Regions from separate parts of the Homo sapiens genome. Here region 1 is linked to region 2. Evidence: promoter capture Hi-C in 16 types of primary human blood cells and fetal thymus (Javierre and others, 2016). All regions are on one chromosome and are shown on one strand. Each heading gives the region's core, a stretch centred on a gene start or on the middle of the fragment in contact. The rest is flanking DNA. Distances are from core to core; before and after follow the strand shown. Region 1 overlaps TAF12 (TATA-box binding protein associated factor 12). Region 2 holds the start of ATP5IF1 (ATP synthase inhibitory factor subunit 1).

Region 1 (7,704 bases), core at 2,714-5,213, 370 kb before region 2:
ACATAAATAGACACACATACATGTATGTATTCATGTGTGGTAGCTACTGTCTTTATTATTTCTTTCTTTATTTATTTTTGAGACGGAATTTCACTCTTTTTGCCCAGGCTGGAATGCAAGGGTGTGACCTCGGCTCACTGCAACCTCTGCCTTCCAGGTTCAAGTGATTCTCCTGCCTCAGCCTTCGGAGTAACTGGGATTACGTAGGCGCCCTCCCACCACGCCTGGCTAATTTTTTGTCTTTTATTTATTTATTTATTTACTTTGAGACAGAGTCTCAGTCTGTCGCCCAGACTGGAGTGCAGTGGCACAATCTCCGCTCACTGCAACCTCTGCCTCCCGGGTTCAAGCGATTCTCCTGCTTCAGCCTCCCGATTAGCTGGGACCACAGGCACACGCCACCACGCCTGGCTAATTTTTTGTATTTTTAGTCGAGACGGGTTTTCACTGTGTTGCCCAGGCTGGTCTCCAACTCCTGAGCTCAGGCAATCTGCCTACCTTGGCCTCCCAAAGTGCTGGGATTGCAGCCGTGAGCCACCACACCCGGCCTGCTCTCTTTCTTTAAAGTGACTTTGCACACTTTATCTACTTTTTGTTGACTGTAAAGTTCAATTCGTAGAGAATAACCTTTGTCTGCAACCTCCACCACCTGAGTTCAAGGGATCCTTTTTTTTTTGAGATGGAGCCTTGCTCTATCGCCCACGCTGGAGTGCAGTGGCGCGATCTTGGCTCACTGCAAGCTCTGCCTCCCAGGTTCACACCATTCTCCTGCCTCAGCCTCCCGAGTAGCTGGGACTACAGGCGCCCGCCACCACACCCGGCTATTTTTTTTTTTTTTTTTTTTTGTATTTTTAGTAGAGACCGGGTTTCACTGTGTTAGCCAGGATGGTCTTGATCTCCTGACTTTGTGATCCACCAGCCTTGGTCTCCCAAAGTGCTCGGATTACAGGCATGAGCCATCACGCCCGGCTGTTCAAGGGATTCTTGTGCCTTGTAGCTGGGATTATAGGCACTCACCATCACTCTTGGCTAATTTTTGTATTTTTAGTAGATAGGAGGTTTCACCATGTTGTCCAGGCTGATCTTGAACTCTTGGCCTCAAGTGATCCATCCGCCTCAGCCTCCCAAAGTGGTGGGATTACAGGTGTGAATCATCGTGCCTGGCCCTTTTTGTTTTCTTTTGAGGCAGGATCTTCCTCTTCACCCAGGCTGCAGTGCAGTGGTGTGATTATGGCTCACTGCATCTTCTACCTCCTGGGCTCAAGTGATCCTCCTGCCTTAGACTCCCAAGTAGTTGGGACTACAGGTGCACACCACCACATACAGCTAAAAAAAAAAGTTTTCTTTTTGAGATGGAGTCTCGCTCTGTCACCTAGGCTAGAGTGCAGTGGTGCCGTCTCAGCTCACTGCAACCTCTGCCTCCCAGGTTCAAGTGATTCTCCTGCCTCAGCCTCCCAAGTAGCTGGGATTATAGGCACCTGCCACCATGCCTGACTAATTTTTTATATTTTTAGTAGACACCAGGTTTCACCATGTTGGCCAGACTGGTCTTGAGCTCCTGACTTCAGGTGATCCGCCCACTTTGGCCTCCCGAAGTGCTGGGATTACAGGCGTGACCCACCACTCCCGCCCAGCTAATATTTTTATTTCTAGTAACAATGCAGTCTCACTATTATGCCTACACTGGTCTTGAACTCCTGGGCTCAAGCAGTCTTCCCGTCTTGGCCTCCCAAAGTGCTGAGATTACAGGAATGAGCCACCACATCTGGCCAGTGTCACTTTCAAATACTAATAACATAAATTGTTAGCAGAAGGTTTCAGACATTCTGTTTTCAAAGAAATATTGGGCCAGGTGTTGTGGCTTATGCCTGTGATTTGCTAAAAGTGACGTACACCTTTATACATGAGTTTAGGGGGCCATGCCCCTATGCCAGTTACTGTCAAAGAGGAATAAACAAAGTCCCTGTCCTCTGGGAACTTCTTGTGATAACCTTATAAGGAAGATAATATCCAGGGGCACCAGGTCATGGAACTGTGGTGTGGACATACTTCTCTCTATATCCATACCTATATGTTTACCCTAGGCTCTGGGCTGAATACTTCACATGCCTTATGTCATTGAATGCCCCAACCACCCTGTCAGTGGTTATTACTGTTGTTACAGCTACATAAAAAATGAAGAAACTGGGAGCCAGCGTCATACAGCTGCTCAGTGAAGCAGCAGACCTCAGCTTTGGCTCTTAATTCCAGAATGCTTGAAGTGCCTTCATGTCCCTTAGGTGTGAGAGGGGTTACTTTGAGCCTTAGGATTAAGACAACTAAAGAAATAAATGATATTTATTTTCTGTGAATTGGATAAGCTGCATGGAAACCTTAGGTCTCAGCATTCACAGCTTTGACTAAATTACCTCTTTTTCTTTGCAAGAAGCTTGAATTTTGTCCTTTAGAAACCTTGGAGGAAGCCAGGCATGGTGACTGATGCCTGTAATACCAACACTTCGGGAGGCTGAGGCAGGAGGATGTGCTTGAGCCCAAAAGTTCAACATAACAAGACCCCCTCTCTACAAAAAATAGAAATATACAGCCAGGCGCAGTGGCTCACGCCTGTAATCCCAGCACTTCGGGAGGCTGAGGCAGGCAGATCACCTGAGGTCAAGAGGTTGAGACCAGCCTGGCTAACATGGTGAAACCCCGTTTCTACTAAAAATACAAAAAATTAGCTGAGGCCAGGTGCGATGTCTCACGCCTGTAATCCTAGAACTTTGGGAGTTCGAGGTGGGTGGATCACGAGGTCAGGAGTTCAAGACCAGCCTGACCGAGATGGTGAAACCCCATCTCTACTAAAAATACAAAAATTAGCCAGATGCAGTGGCAGATGCCTGGAATCCCAGCTACTCGGGAGTCTGAGGCAGGAGAATCGCTTGAACCCAGGTGGCAGAGGTTTCAGTGAGCCGAGATCGCACCACTGCACTCCAACTTGGGCAACAGAGTGAGACTCCATCTCCAAAAAATAAAAAATAAAAAAGCCAGGCATGGTGGCACACACCTGTAATCCCAGCTACTCAGGAGGCTGAGGCAGGAGAATTGCTTGAACCTGGCAAATGAGCCTGTGGCATATTCAATGTTGAAGCCTGAGAGATTGCAGTGAGTCGAGATTGCGCCATTGCACTCCAGCCTGGGCAACAGGAGCAAAATTCCGTCTTAAAGAAATATAAGAAATAAGAAATATTAGCTGGCCATGGTGGCATGCGCCTGTAGTCCCAGCTACTTGGGAGGCCAGGATGGGAATATCGCTTGTGCTGGGGTAGTCAAGGCTGTAGTGAGCCAAGATTGTGCCACTGCACCCCACTCTGGGTGACAGAGTGGGAAGACCCTGTCTCCAAAAAAAAAGAAAAAACCTTGGAGAAGCCATGTCCATTTTCCCTATTTGTAATAGAATCCCTTTGTGGAGTTAGTAGCCAGATGCCCACATTCATCCTCCCTGATCCAAGGGGGTCACATTGCACTCCTGGTACTGCCTTCTTGGTACGTTTATCTCTGTGCTGGCTTCTTCCTTGCAGAGCGCCAGTGGAACATGTGGATCCCAGGATTTGGCTCTGAAGAAATCCGACCCTACAAAAAAGCTTGCACCACAGAAGCTCACAAACAGGTGAGGAAATGCCAGAGCCCTGGGGACAGCCAGGGCTGATTCCTTGAGTTACGTCTCAGAGTGGATACACACAGCTACCTTCTAGGGGGCCTCGCTTCCTCCACACAGCAAACTTCACTCTCTGGAGCAAGGGTCAGAGAGGGCAAGAGGCAGCAGCGGTCTCCGGGAGATCAATAAGATATTCACATGGTGCTGTGCTGTTCCCACATGTGGTCTGTTTTTTCTCGTAACTCTGTTGAGTGTCACTTAAAGCTGTTGATTCTGGGTTCTTCTAATATGGATGCAGCTCGCCCCACCATACCTCCTTAATGAAATCTTCCTTCATTGTTGCTGATTGCAACACCATATATGGTCCTATGAAGAGAGGGCAGGTTAAAGAAAGCAAAAATGTGCTGTACTTGTTCTGAGAGGTAGTATCCAGGCTGCCGTGCTGGACATTCTGGCCTGTGTCCTGGTTTTACCTTTGAACAAGGTTCCCTCTGAACAAGGAACCTAGGAGTCAGTGTGAGAATACTACTTCTGCTGTGGAGCAAGTCATCCCCATCTTTGGTCAGTCCAACAGCAGTGTTGGCCTCCCTCTGACAAGGCTGTTATCCTTTCTGTCTTAACTTAAGTGGCTACTCTGATTTGAAACGTGAGCTTTTTCCAAGCTTAGCAGGCACAACTGGGCAGTCCTGGTTGAGTGCCCCTGCTTCGCCATAGCCTGGTATCTCTGGAGCCGGTGTTTGTAAAGCTCACGAAGCAAGCCCTAAAGGGAAGCCACCAGTTTCCTGAATGGAAAGATTGCACTGTTCAGAAGAGAGTCCCTGCAAACAATGGACTGTCACTTTGTGCTCCCAAGTTAACCATTTTCAGCCCTATTTATTTAGTCGACAAATGCCATAATATTGGTATTTGGTCAAAAAGAATGAACAAAGTAAGTTGTTAATTTGGCTAGTAGCTAGTAATAGTAAAAGAATTCAGATCATGAAACCTATGATCTGAGTGTTTCCATGATGGACTGTGGTAGAAGTTGTTAGTCTTCAGTTTCCCTTCAATGCAGGTCATGAGATGTGAAATGTCAGCTCCCTTTGTGTGTGGCAACACTTTGAAATTGAGGCCCCTTCCCTATTGTGTCCATCATTGGAGAAAAGATTGGGGTCAGGGGACCCCAGAAAACACATGCTTGGCCAGGCGCAGTGGCTCATGCCTGTAATCCTAGCACTTTGGGAGGCCGAGCCTGGTGGATCACTTGAGGTTAGGAGTTTGACACCAGCCCGGCCAATGTAGTGAAACCCTGTCTCTACTAAAAATACAAAAATTAGCCAGGCGTGGTGGCACGTGCCTGTAATCCCAGCTACTGGGGAGGCTGAGGCAGGAGAATCACTTGAACTTGGGAGGCAGAGGTTGCAGTGAGCCGAAATCATGCCACTGCACTCCAGCCTGGGCAACAGAGCGAGATTCCATCTCAAAAAAAAAAAAAAGAAAGAAAGAAAACACATGCTTTGCCAGCTTATTCTCTAAGTCACCAAAACTCAAGAGCTGTCACTTTCTCCTGCTTTTAACTTTTTTGCCATTCTGCTAGCCTAGAGCAGTTTGGTGGATGAAATGGGTCCACTAGCCCATCTAAACATCTCTTGGGGCCTTGCAGACTGCTCTCTGGTTAAAAGGAATCTACTGAGATGCCTTGTGACTGCAGGTCTCTGAGGGCTGCGGCCTACAGTGTAGACCATGAGGCCTGCTAGCCACACAGAATGTTCCAGAAAGCTCCTGACTCCAGCTGCTGCTGTATAACTGCTTATTTGTCTCTCCTTTCAGAGAATGGCATTGATCCGGAAAACAACCAAGAAATAACACACGGAAAGGTCAGGGAATGGACAGCAATGTATTTGGAGATACTTGAGCTGAGAACTCAGCCATCTCATCCTTGGATTTTTTTTTTTAATGCTTTACAGAGAAGCATATATTTTTTATTAACAGTGCAGCAATATCTATAATGACTGAGAGGATCTGCCAAAAGAATAAAGCCTCCTACCCCAACTTCCGGTCCCTTTTCCCTGCCATCTCAAAGAGGAGCAATGTATCTTCCAGAGAAGATTTTATTTGTGGTTTATTATATAAGTGACTGAATATGGGACAAAGCATTATGGTCTTTTTGGGTAAGACAGTATTAGCAGGATTTGTAAAGGGTTTTGTTTCCTTCTCCCTTCCCCTTTTCCCTGTACTTTGTAATGTCAGTGTTTATATGAATATGACTTTCATTTGCTTTTCCAGAATAAAGAAGTTATTAATCGAAAGACAGGGTACCTTTGAAATCCCAGAGGGAGTCAGGACAAGCAAGCCTGGATTGTAGCTCTCTAGTCAGCAGGTGGCAGCATCGTTATTCATTTTGGTGTTTGAGAAAAACTCAGGGATTTTCCATCATTTTACCCCAAGGGAGGCCATAACATCAGCAGGAGTTTGAGTCCAGCTTCTCGGCCATAAGAATTGAGTAGGGTGACCTTCTCTCACGGCCCTCAACTGAAGAGGCATCCTTGTTTTGGCAATGTTATATGCCTAAAAACCCTTTTTGGTTTTTTTTGTTTTTTTTTAATTTTTTTTTTTTTGAGACGGAGTCTAGCTCTGTCACCCAGGCTAGAGTGCAGTGATGTGATCTTGGCTCACTGCCACCTCAGCCTCCCAGGTTTAAGCGATTCTCCTGCCTCAGATTCCCAAGTAACTGGGGTTACAGGCGCCTGCCGCCACACCGAGATAATTTTTGTATTTTTAGTGGAGATGGGGTTTTCACTGTGTTGGTCAGACAGGTCTCGCACTCCCAAAGTGCTGAGATTACAAGCGTGAGCCACCGCGCCCGGCCTAAAAACCCTTTTTGACCTGCTCTTCTGGAACTCCTGGAGAAAGCTGTGTTTGTCCCTGTCCCTGAGAAAGGATGGGAGTAGGCCCCTGTCCTCAGGATAGGCATGTCTGTGCAGGTGCCCATCTCTTCTTAGTTGCTGTTATCTTTGATCCTGGTGTTTTCACCATCATGCAGAAGAAACCAGGCGCCTTCCAGACCTCTGGGTCATGTCCTTCAGTGGCACCTAGCATCATCCTGTCCTGGGCCCAGCATGGCCCTTGTGGATTGTGAGAGTTCTGTGGGCTCTAGGGAGGATGGCTGTCCTACCCAAGGGTCACTAGCACAGGCACAGCCACCTTGATTTGCTTTGGTCCTCTGCGTCCTGAAGCTTGGCCCAGGATGAGACCCTGCATTTCAAAATTCCCTCCCACCCTGAGTTAGATCCCATGTCCCCCCCACTTCACAGTCTCACAGATACACTGAGTGAGCTCCTCAGAGGCTGTGCTAATGTTACTGTTGCTCTTGGCTGAAGTTTCAATGCCCCAAAGAGGCAGCCAGCTTCTTTCCCTGTGGTGTCACCCAGTGCTCACCAACAGGTCACTCTTGTGGCCAACCATCAGGACGAGGATGCTGAAGGGTTTCACTTTCCCCAGAACCTCCTGATGCCAGTGGTGACACTCATAAAGGATATTCTGTTGGTGATACCAAACACCAAGGGGCCTCCAGCTGGGTTTCAGTAGTACGATGAGTCACTGACCTTGGCAGCCAAGGAATCTAGAATTAGTTTTGAGATCTCCACTAAGACAGAAGGGAACACAGGAATCGGGGAAGTTTAATGGAAAGAGCTGAGGTAGAATCAAAAGACCCCAGTTCTTGATTTGCAGTGTGACAAGTAAGTGGCGTCATCTATCTCAGTCTTGTCCTATCTGCATATTGAGGGACTTGTTCATTCACTCAGCAAGTATTTATAATCCCATGCCTGTCCTAAGCAGAGGGATACAATGATGAATAAAAACAGACCCAGGTGACCGGGCGCAGTGGCTCAAGCCTGTAATCTCAGCACTCTGGGAGGCCAAGGCAGGTGGATCACTTGAGGTCAGGAGTTCAAGATCAGCCTGGCCAACATGGCGAAACCGTCTCTACTAAAAATATAAAAAATTAGCCAGGCAGCTGAGGCAGGAGAATTGCTTGAACCTGGGAGGCGGAGGTTGTAGTGAGCCGAGATTGCACCACTGCACTC
Region 2 (7,739 bases), core at 4,036-6,535:
CATGTTACCCAGGCTGGTCTCAAGCTCCTGGGATCAAGTGATCCGTCCGCCTTTGCCTCCCAAAGTGCTGGGATTACAGCGGGGAGCCACTGCGCCCAGCCCAGCCAGCCCGATTCTGACCCAGAGGGTTTAGAAGTTGCTTAGACAGATCTGCTCCTGTAAGTTCACAGAACTCCTCTGGCTACTGCTGTCCCTTTTTTTCCTGAGTCTTGTTTGCTGAAATCTTCTTGAGATTCTGTGAGACAATAGCCCCTATTTCTTCCAGTAAATTACTCTTTTTCTTCCCCTTTAGACAGCCAGTGCTGGTTTCTGTTACATGTAAACAAAAAGGATTTTATTTTTTATTTTTTTAGGCTAGTCAAGTGAAGCAGTGGGAGGCGGAGGACAAAAAGAATTTTGACTAAGGCAATAAATATATTATACAAGTGAAGTATTTCCCAAACTGTATTCTGTGGAATGCTGTGTTCTCAAATGTTAACAAGTTCCATACAAGAACCATTTATTTCTAAATTCTAAAGTCACATTCATATTATGAATTATATTAAACATATATAGTTACTTTTATTATACCTAATAATCTGTCTTTATAAAAGTGTTTACCCAAAAATGCCAGCAGATTCCATGAGAAACTACCTGTACTACAATGATCGTCAAACTTTGGTGCATACATGACAGAATCAACCGGAGGGCTTGTTAAAGGATTGCTGAGTCAAACCCCTCGTTTCAGCAGGTTTGTGGTGGGGCCTGAGAATTTACATTTCTTTTTTTTTTTTTTTTAGACGGAGTCTTGCTCTGTTGCCCAGACTGGAGTGCAGTGGTGCGATCTTGGCTCACTGCAACCTCCGCCTCCCGGTTCAAGCGATTCTTCTGCCTCAGCCTCCCGAGTAGCTGGGACTACAGGTGCCCGCCACCATGCTCAGCTAATTTTTGGATTTTTAGTAGAGACGGGGTTTTACCATATTGGCCAGGCTGGTCTCGAACTCCTGACCTTGTGACCCACCCACCTCGGCCTCCCAAATTGCTGGGATTACAGGCAAGAGCCACCGCGCCCTGCCGAGAATTTGCATTTCTAACAAGTTCCCAGGTGATGCTGACACTGCTGGCTCATGGAACCACTGCTGTAGTATTTTCCAAATTATCCTGATTCTAAGAACCACCTATGACCTGTGCTGTTTTTTCAGTGGTTACTGGCTCATGTCACATAAATTCTTTTAGGATTCAAACATGTTTGTGATATTACTCAGTATTTACATCTTGCTTTTACTGCAGCATGATAGAAAAATTAACCACAGGTATATCATAACAAAAAGACCATGAGTTACCATTTTCACAAAGTTCAGATATATTTAAATTAGCCTATTTAATCTTTTTTTGGTTGTTGTTGAGATGGAGTCTCACTCTGTCTCTCAGGCTGGAGTACAGTGGCACAATCTCAGCTCACTGCAACCTCTGCCTCCCAGGTTCAAGTAATTCTCCTGCCTCAGCCTCCCGAGTAGCGGGGATTACAGGTGCCCAACACCACACATGGCTAATTTTTGTATTTTTAGTAGAGATGGGGTTTTGCCATGTTAGCCAGGCTGGTCTTGAACTCCTGACCTCAGATGATCCGCCTGCCTCGGCCTCTCAAAGTGCTGGGATTACAGGCATGAGCCATCGCACCCAGCCTATGGTACACCTTTACTGAGGAAACAATTCAGGAACATCACTCTTAGTAAGGCAATTGTTGATTATAAGTCAAAAAAACACCATCATGTACAAATTCAGGGGATTTTGTATACCTTGTTTTTTTGGTTACAAATATGCAAAATTAAAGATGTTTGCTAATACTTGTTTCCAATTTTTAAACTTTTCAAGTGTTGCACTGTTAATAATGTTAAAATAAAAGGCATTTGACTTAGTATGATTGTTTCTTGAACTTCATCTTTTCAGGTTATTTTGTTGCTGGCCACTTGCAAGATTTATAGGCACTACTGAGGCCTCAGTGCTGAGATTCAGCAACATTATAATCATTATAATTCAAAGTTTAGTTTTTTGTTTTTTGTTTTTTTTTTTAAAGAGATGGGGTCAAAATGCTGCCCAGGCATGTCTGGAACTCCTGGGCTCAAGCAATCGTCTTGCCTCAGACTGCCAAGTAGCTGAACTGTAGGCACATACCACACCTGGCTGTGTTCAGTTTCATGGGCAAGTCAAACTATCTAGTGTTTTGTCTGTACAGACAAGGTCAATGCGACTTCTCCAAGCTTTTATCACTCAATGGTCCTACAGGCCCTTGTGAGATAGATAGGGTCTTAGAACAAATAACTCATTACAATCCTGGGCAAATACTCTACTGAACTGGTGAACTGAAAATGTTTTGCTAATGGCCCAAATGTCACCTCAAATTTTTTTGCCTAGAGGAGTTACACAACTAGTTTGTATAATAATTTAGTTATACTAGGCCCTCAAGTCTAATTTGAAACAAAATACTTGGCAAAGCAAAATATAACCTAAGAAATAATTCTGATTTTCTGCTAATAACAGACTTGGTTTAGTAGTCAAAAAACCTGGACACAAGTCTCACTGCCAAGGTGCTGAGTGACTGTATAAATCACATGATTTCTAATTCCAGTTCTCTCAATCTACAAAATTAGAACAAGGATGACTAGCTCATATTAAGTATCCTCTAAACCATTTTAAAAATGCAAAATGCTGTTTTAACTGATGGTACTTTCAATTGTATCTTTTTTTTTTTTTTTTTTGAGACAGAGTCTCATTCTGTCACCCAGACTGGAGTGCAGTGGCACAGTCTCGGCTCACTGCAACCTACACCTCCCAGGTTCAAGTGGTTTTCCTGCCTCAGCCTCCTGAGTAGCTGGGACTACAGGTGCGTGCCACCACACCTGGCTAATTTTTGTATTTTTAATAGAGATGGGGTTTTACTGTTGTCCAGGCTGGTCTTGAACTCCTGACCTCAGGTGATCCACCCACCTTGGCCTTCCAAAGTGCTGGGATTACAGGCATGAGCCACCGCACCTGGCCTAATTGTATCTTTTGAAGCAATGACTCCTTCGGATCTCCAGGATCCTCCTGATCTTTATGCTTCAGATTGGGATTTATCCTTCAGGAAGCTTTCTCTGAACACCTCTAATTAGACGGGGAGGGGTACTTTGTCTGTGTCACACCTATCCCCCCAACTCGTGTTGTTTCATAGCACTTATCACACTGTGCATTGTCTGTGGGTTCCTGGATGCAGGGACGCCTCTAATCCATTTTAGCAGTCCATTGGTGTCTGTCTATCTCTTCCAGATAGAAGAAGGCATCAAACACAGTTCACTGATGACAATTTATTATAATCTGTTAGTAGCACACAGACAAATATTAGTTAAACCAGAACCATGTCTACACAGAAGTGGGCAATGACATGTGCCATTCTATGGCACACGGTGTGCACTTAATCATCATGTTTTAGCATTTTGATCTTCTGCTTATGGCGCTCAATTTCTTTCTGCAGACGCTCAATCTCCTTCTTATGATGAACGATTTCTTCTTCATGGTGTTTTTTCAAAGCTGCCAGTTGTTCTCTACTCTGTGCTCTACAAGGACACGGTGGCTCAGGGTTTAATTTCAATCCTTCACCCCAAAGAGATCTCAAAGCATAACCTGTAATGTCTAAGCAAGGAATAGGAGTTCCAATTCCATGGGAGTCTAGCTGGTCATCCTCTTCTACTCCTCAACTAGTGAAAGAATACCCCATCTTAAATTGAGGTGTAGCCATCTTAAGAAGACCAAAGAGCTTATTGCTTTCAGATTCCTCTTTAAAATAGAAAACTCCAGAGAGATGTGACACAAGTCCCTAATACCTTATGAGGGGAACAACCCAGGGAACTTGACTCCCCTTTAGGGAAAAAAAAAGGAACAAAATGAGGAAGACAGACAAAGGGGTGTAGCTAAAAGGCAAATATCCATTTCCTATTCCAATCTGTCTAGAGCTTTCTTTGCCTATAGAAATGAATGGCCCACTGTAAGGCCAATAAAGGGTCTCTTGCATGCGCAGTACTTGGCAGTTCAATTTAGGTTCCAAGAAGGGACTGGATTACAATGTTGGTTTGGTCACATTTAGGCCTCAGTTTTCCTTAACTACAAAATGTAGGGGCTCAATTAGATAGTCTCTAACGGCTGTACCTTGGCTCTCTATACGGTATGGCAGGTGTCATGGTGATAATTCTCAACAGAAGGCAGAAGTGAAAGGCCAAAGGACAAGCAAAAGCAAGATTAATTCCTCACTGCTCTCCAGAGTGGACAGAAGTCAGTTAAAGATAACTCAAGGCTGGCAAAGGGAGGCCCAGCCCACTCCATACTCCTAAGCAGGAGAGGGAAATCTACAGGTCTAGGTTGGGCTGAGTAGGGCAAAAGCCTTTAGAAGATGGTGTCCAACCATAAGTAGCTCCCATGACCAGCTCCCATCATCCTCACTCTTGCGGAGTCGGGGGTCTAGAAACACCTGAGAAGCCTGAATGCATGCAGGCTTGCAAAGCTAAGGCGTGCTGGCGAGGAAGGAGAGCGTAGAGGGGGTGACAGGTGGGTAAGGGCCGAGGGAGTCAGGCTGGGAGGCAAACGTTGGGCGGTCGGATCTAGACACTGTGCGAAGAATCTGGGGGTGTTTCGCACGACCTGAGGAGAACTCCACGCGGGAGATGGTAATGATAAAGGAGGAGTTGAGCCGTGGGTTGTTTTGGAGACCCGCCGGTGGAAACGGTTTGGGGGCCTGAAACTGTTGTGCAGGTAACTGGGAGTGCCCTATACGTGGCAACGGTCGGGACATCAAGGGTTAGGGTATACTGGATTGGGGCCCGGGAGTTCTGTTGGGGGATGGGGCGCCCAAGGCACCAGGTAGGAACGGGTGGGGCGATTGGCAGTTTAAGGATTGGAAGGCCATTGGGAGATCCAGGGCTGGACTTGGGACCCGGTGAGCCTCACCGGAAATATCGTTCCTCTTCAGCCTGCTCTCTCTTTCCGAAGGCCCCACCGGCTTCCCGGATGGAGCCCGCGCCCCGGTCGACATTCTCGGACTGCAGAGAGACAGGGACACTGGTAAAGGTACGGAAGCAAAGATGGGATCCGCCCGCGGGGCTGGAGCAGCGGACACTGCCGCAGCGTACCTGATCCGAGCCGAAGCCTCGGGCTTGCATGGTCCTCACGCCCCACACGCCAAGCCACGTCCGCGCCGCCAACGCCGTCACTGCCATTGCTGCTGGAGCTGCACCTCTGGCGTCTCTGCCGCAGCAAGCAGTCTCTCGTTACGCGCTAATGGCAGGGACGGCCAAGCACCCAATCTGGTCGACGGAGGGGCGGATGAACACAGGAGTAGCGAATCACGGGAGAGCGGAGGCGGGCTTCCCGGAGCTCACAGCGAATCCCGAGCAAGAGACGGGTTTCTTCTTAGCCAACCGCTAGCAAGGGCTTAGGGCCAAAGGACTGGAAAGAGGAATGATGGAGGAGTTTAGAGAGCTGAGTGAGGAGAGTGCCAGAAGCCGAAATTTCGGCTCTTGGACCCATCAGAATGAGGCGTGGCGTCCACCTCCAGCCCACGATTTCAATTCTAAAGTCGTTATTATTCAAAGCCCAAAGGAAGTTTTCCCTTCCCTGGCCTGCTAGCATCAATAAAATGGGGGAATTCGGGGTTTGGGAGCTGTGTCCAGGATGCTGATGTCCAGGATACCGACGTCCAATGTGCCCTGGCTTAGATATACATAAATCGCGTTCATTTGTTATGAGAAGTGTCAGTGTTCTGGCTGGGCGCGGTGGCTCACGCCTGTAATCCCAACACTTTGGGAGGCCGAAGTGGGTGGATCACCTGAGGTCCGGAGTTCGAGACCAGCCTGGCCAACATGGGGAAACCCCGTCTCTACTAAAAATACAAAAATCAGCCGGGTGCGGTGGCACGCGACTGTAATCGCAGCTACTCAGGAGGCTGAGACAGGAGAATTGGCTTGAACCCGGGAGGCGGAGGTTGCAGTGAGCCGAGATTGCGCAACTGCACTCCAGCCTGGTGACAAAGCGAGACTCCGTCTCAAAACAAAAAAAAAAAAAAGAAAACCCAAATTATAACTTGACCACCTCAGGCACAGTTTCCTAGGACCTCTTGAGGCTGTGTTTCCCCAAGCTATGGTCACTCATCTTGGCTCAGAATAAACCTTTTAAAAATATTTTAGTTTGTTTTTTTCGTTAGCAACATATTGTTGAATGGGCTTAATAACTGCACTTTTGGCAATGTGGTGCAATGCAGTAGAAAAGAGCAGGCCAGGCGCGGTGGCTCACACCTGTAATCCCAGCACTTTGGGAGGCCGAGGCGGGCAGATCACCTGAGGTTGGGAATTCGAGACCAGCTTGACCAACATGGAGAAACCCCATCTCTACTAAAAAAAAAATATGAAAAATTAGCTGGGCATGGTGGCGCATATCTGTAATCCCAGCTACTCGGGAGGCTGAGGCAGGAGAATCGCTTGAACCTGAGAGGCAGGGGGTGCAGTGAGCTGAGATCACGCCATTGCACTCCAGCCTGGTCAACAAGAGAGAAACTGTCTCAAAAATAAATAAATAAAAATAAAAAATAAATTAGCTAGGCGTGGTGGCACATGCCTGTAATCCCAGCTACTTGGGAGGCTGAGGCAGGAGAATGCTTGAACCCGGGAGGCTGAGGTTGCGGTGAGCTGAGATCACGCCATTGCACTGCGGCCTGGGTAACAAGAGCGAAACTCTGTCTCAAAAAAAAAAAAAAAAAAAAAAAAAAAGGATAAGTAGGAGTCTAGGGAAAGCTTGACCTTAACCTCCCTTCATCCATCTAATGAATGTGAACAAGACAACAGTAGTCTTTACTCTCATGAAGTTTATAGCTCTTCTCTAACTCATTTTCTCTTCTCTGTTTCTTCTTTTTTAGATGAGAGAATTGGGCCAGATTATCTACCTGATTGATGATTATAAAAATACCTTCTTTGGGGCTGGGCGTGGTGTCTCACACCTGTAATCCCAGCACTTCGGGAGGCCGAGGCGCATGGATCATGAGGTCAGGAGTTCGAGATCAGCCTGACTAACTCCGTCTCTACTAAAAATACAAAAATCAGCCGGGCGTGGTGACATGCGCCTGTAATCTCAGCTACTCAGGAGGTTGAGGCAGGAGAATTGCTTGAACCTGGGAGGCGGCGGTTGCAGTGAGCCAAGATCATGCCACTGCACTCCAGCCTGGGCAACAGAGCAAGCCTCTGCCTCAAAAAAACAAAACAAAACAAAACCTTCTTTGTTTTCTATGAAATAGTAAAACTGGCTTTATTGATTATATTTTAGTTGAGAAAATAGCAGCCCTACCTGGTATTTTGTTTAATTCCATTTATGTGAAATACGTATTCACATATTGTTTAACTCCATTTATGTGAAATATCCAGAATAGGTAAATCCATATAGATAGAACACAGATTGCTTGTTTTCAGGGACTGGGGAGAGGGGGCGAATAGGGAGTAACTGCTTAATAGGTACTAGGTCTCCTCGGCCAGGCGCGGTGGCTCACGCCTGTAATCCCCGCACTTTGGGAGGCCAAGGCGAGCGGATTACGACGTCAGGAGATCGTAGACCATCCTGGCCAACATGGTGAACATCCGGCTTTACTAAAAATATAAAAATTAGCGGGGCATGGTGGCGTTTGTCTGTAATCTCAGCTACTCGGGAGGCTAAGGCAGAATTTCTGGAACCGGGGAGGCGCCACTGCA

Evidence for each region. Contacts are between HindIII fragments. The CHiCAGO score rates a contact against its expected background, and 5 or more counts as called.
Region 1: a fragment that was not itself captured here is called in contact with the fragment with the promoter of ATP5IF1 in region 2 in 1 of 17 cell types (endothelial precursors); the score reaches 5.4 in endothelial precursors.

Annotation. Positions count from the first base shown.
Region 1 is chr1:28,601,317-28,609,020 of GRCh38, reverse strand. It overlaps TAF12 (TATA-box binding protein associated factor 12), which reads left to right. Exons shown (of 6, transcript NM_005644.4): 5 at 3,561-3,649; 6 at 5,447-6,171. The coding sequence ends at 5,482. Among named protein-coding and RNA genes, the nearest start is that of RAB42, 13 kb to the right of the region's middle. RefSeq lists an enhancer at 6,082-6,582. The HindIII fragment of the contact is 676 bases long and covers 3,626-4,301 here.
Region 2 is chr1:28,233,670-28,241,408 of GRCh38, reverse strand. It overlaps ATP5IF1 (ATP synthase inhibitory factor subunit 1), which reads right to left and starts at 5,285. Exons shown (of 3, transcript NM_016311.5): 1 at 5,139-5,285; 2 at 4,957-5,048; 3 at 3,309-3,572. The coding sequence starts at 5,225. The coding sequence ends at 3,431. RefSeq lists enhancers at 5,027-5,086, 5,880-6,386 and a silencer at 5,823-6,047. The HindIII fragment of the contact is 3,687 bases long and covers 3,110-6,796 here.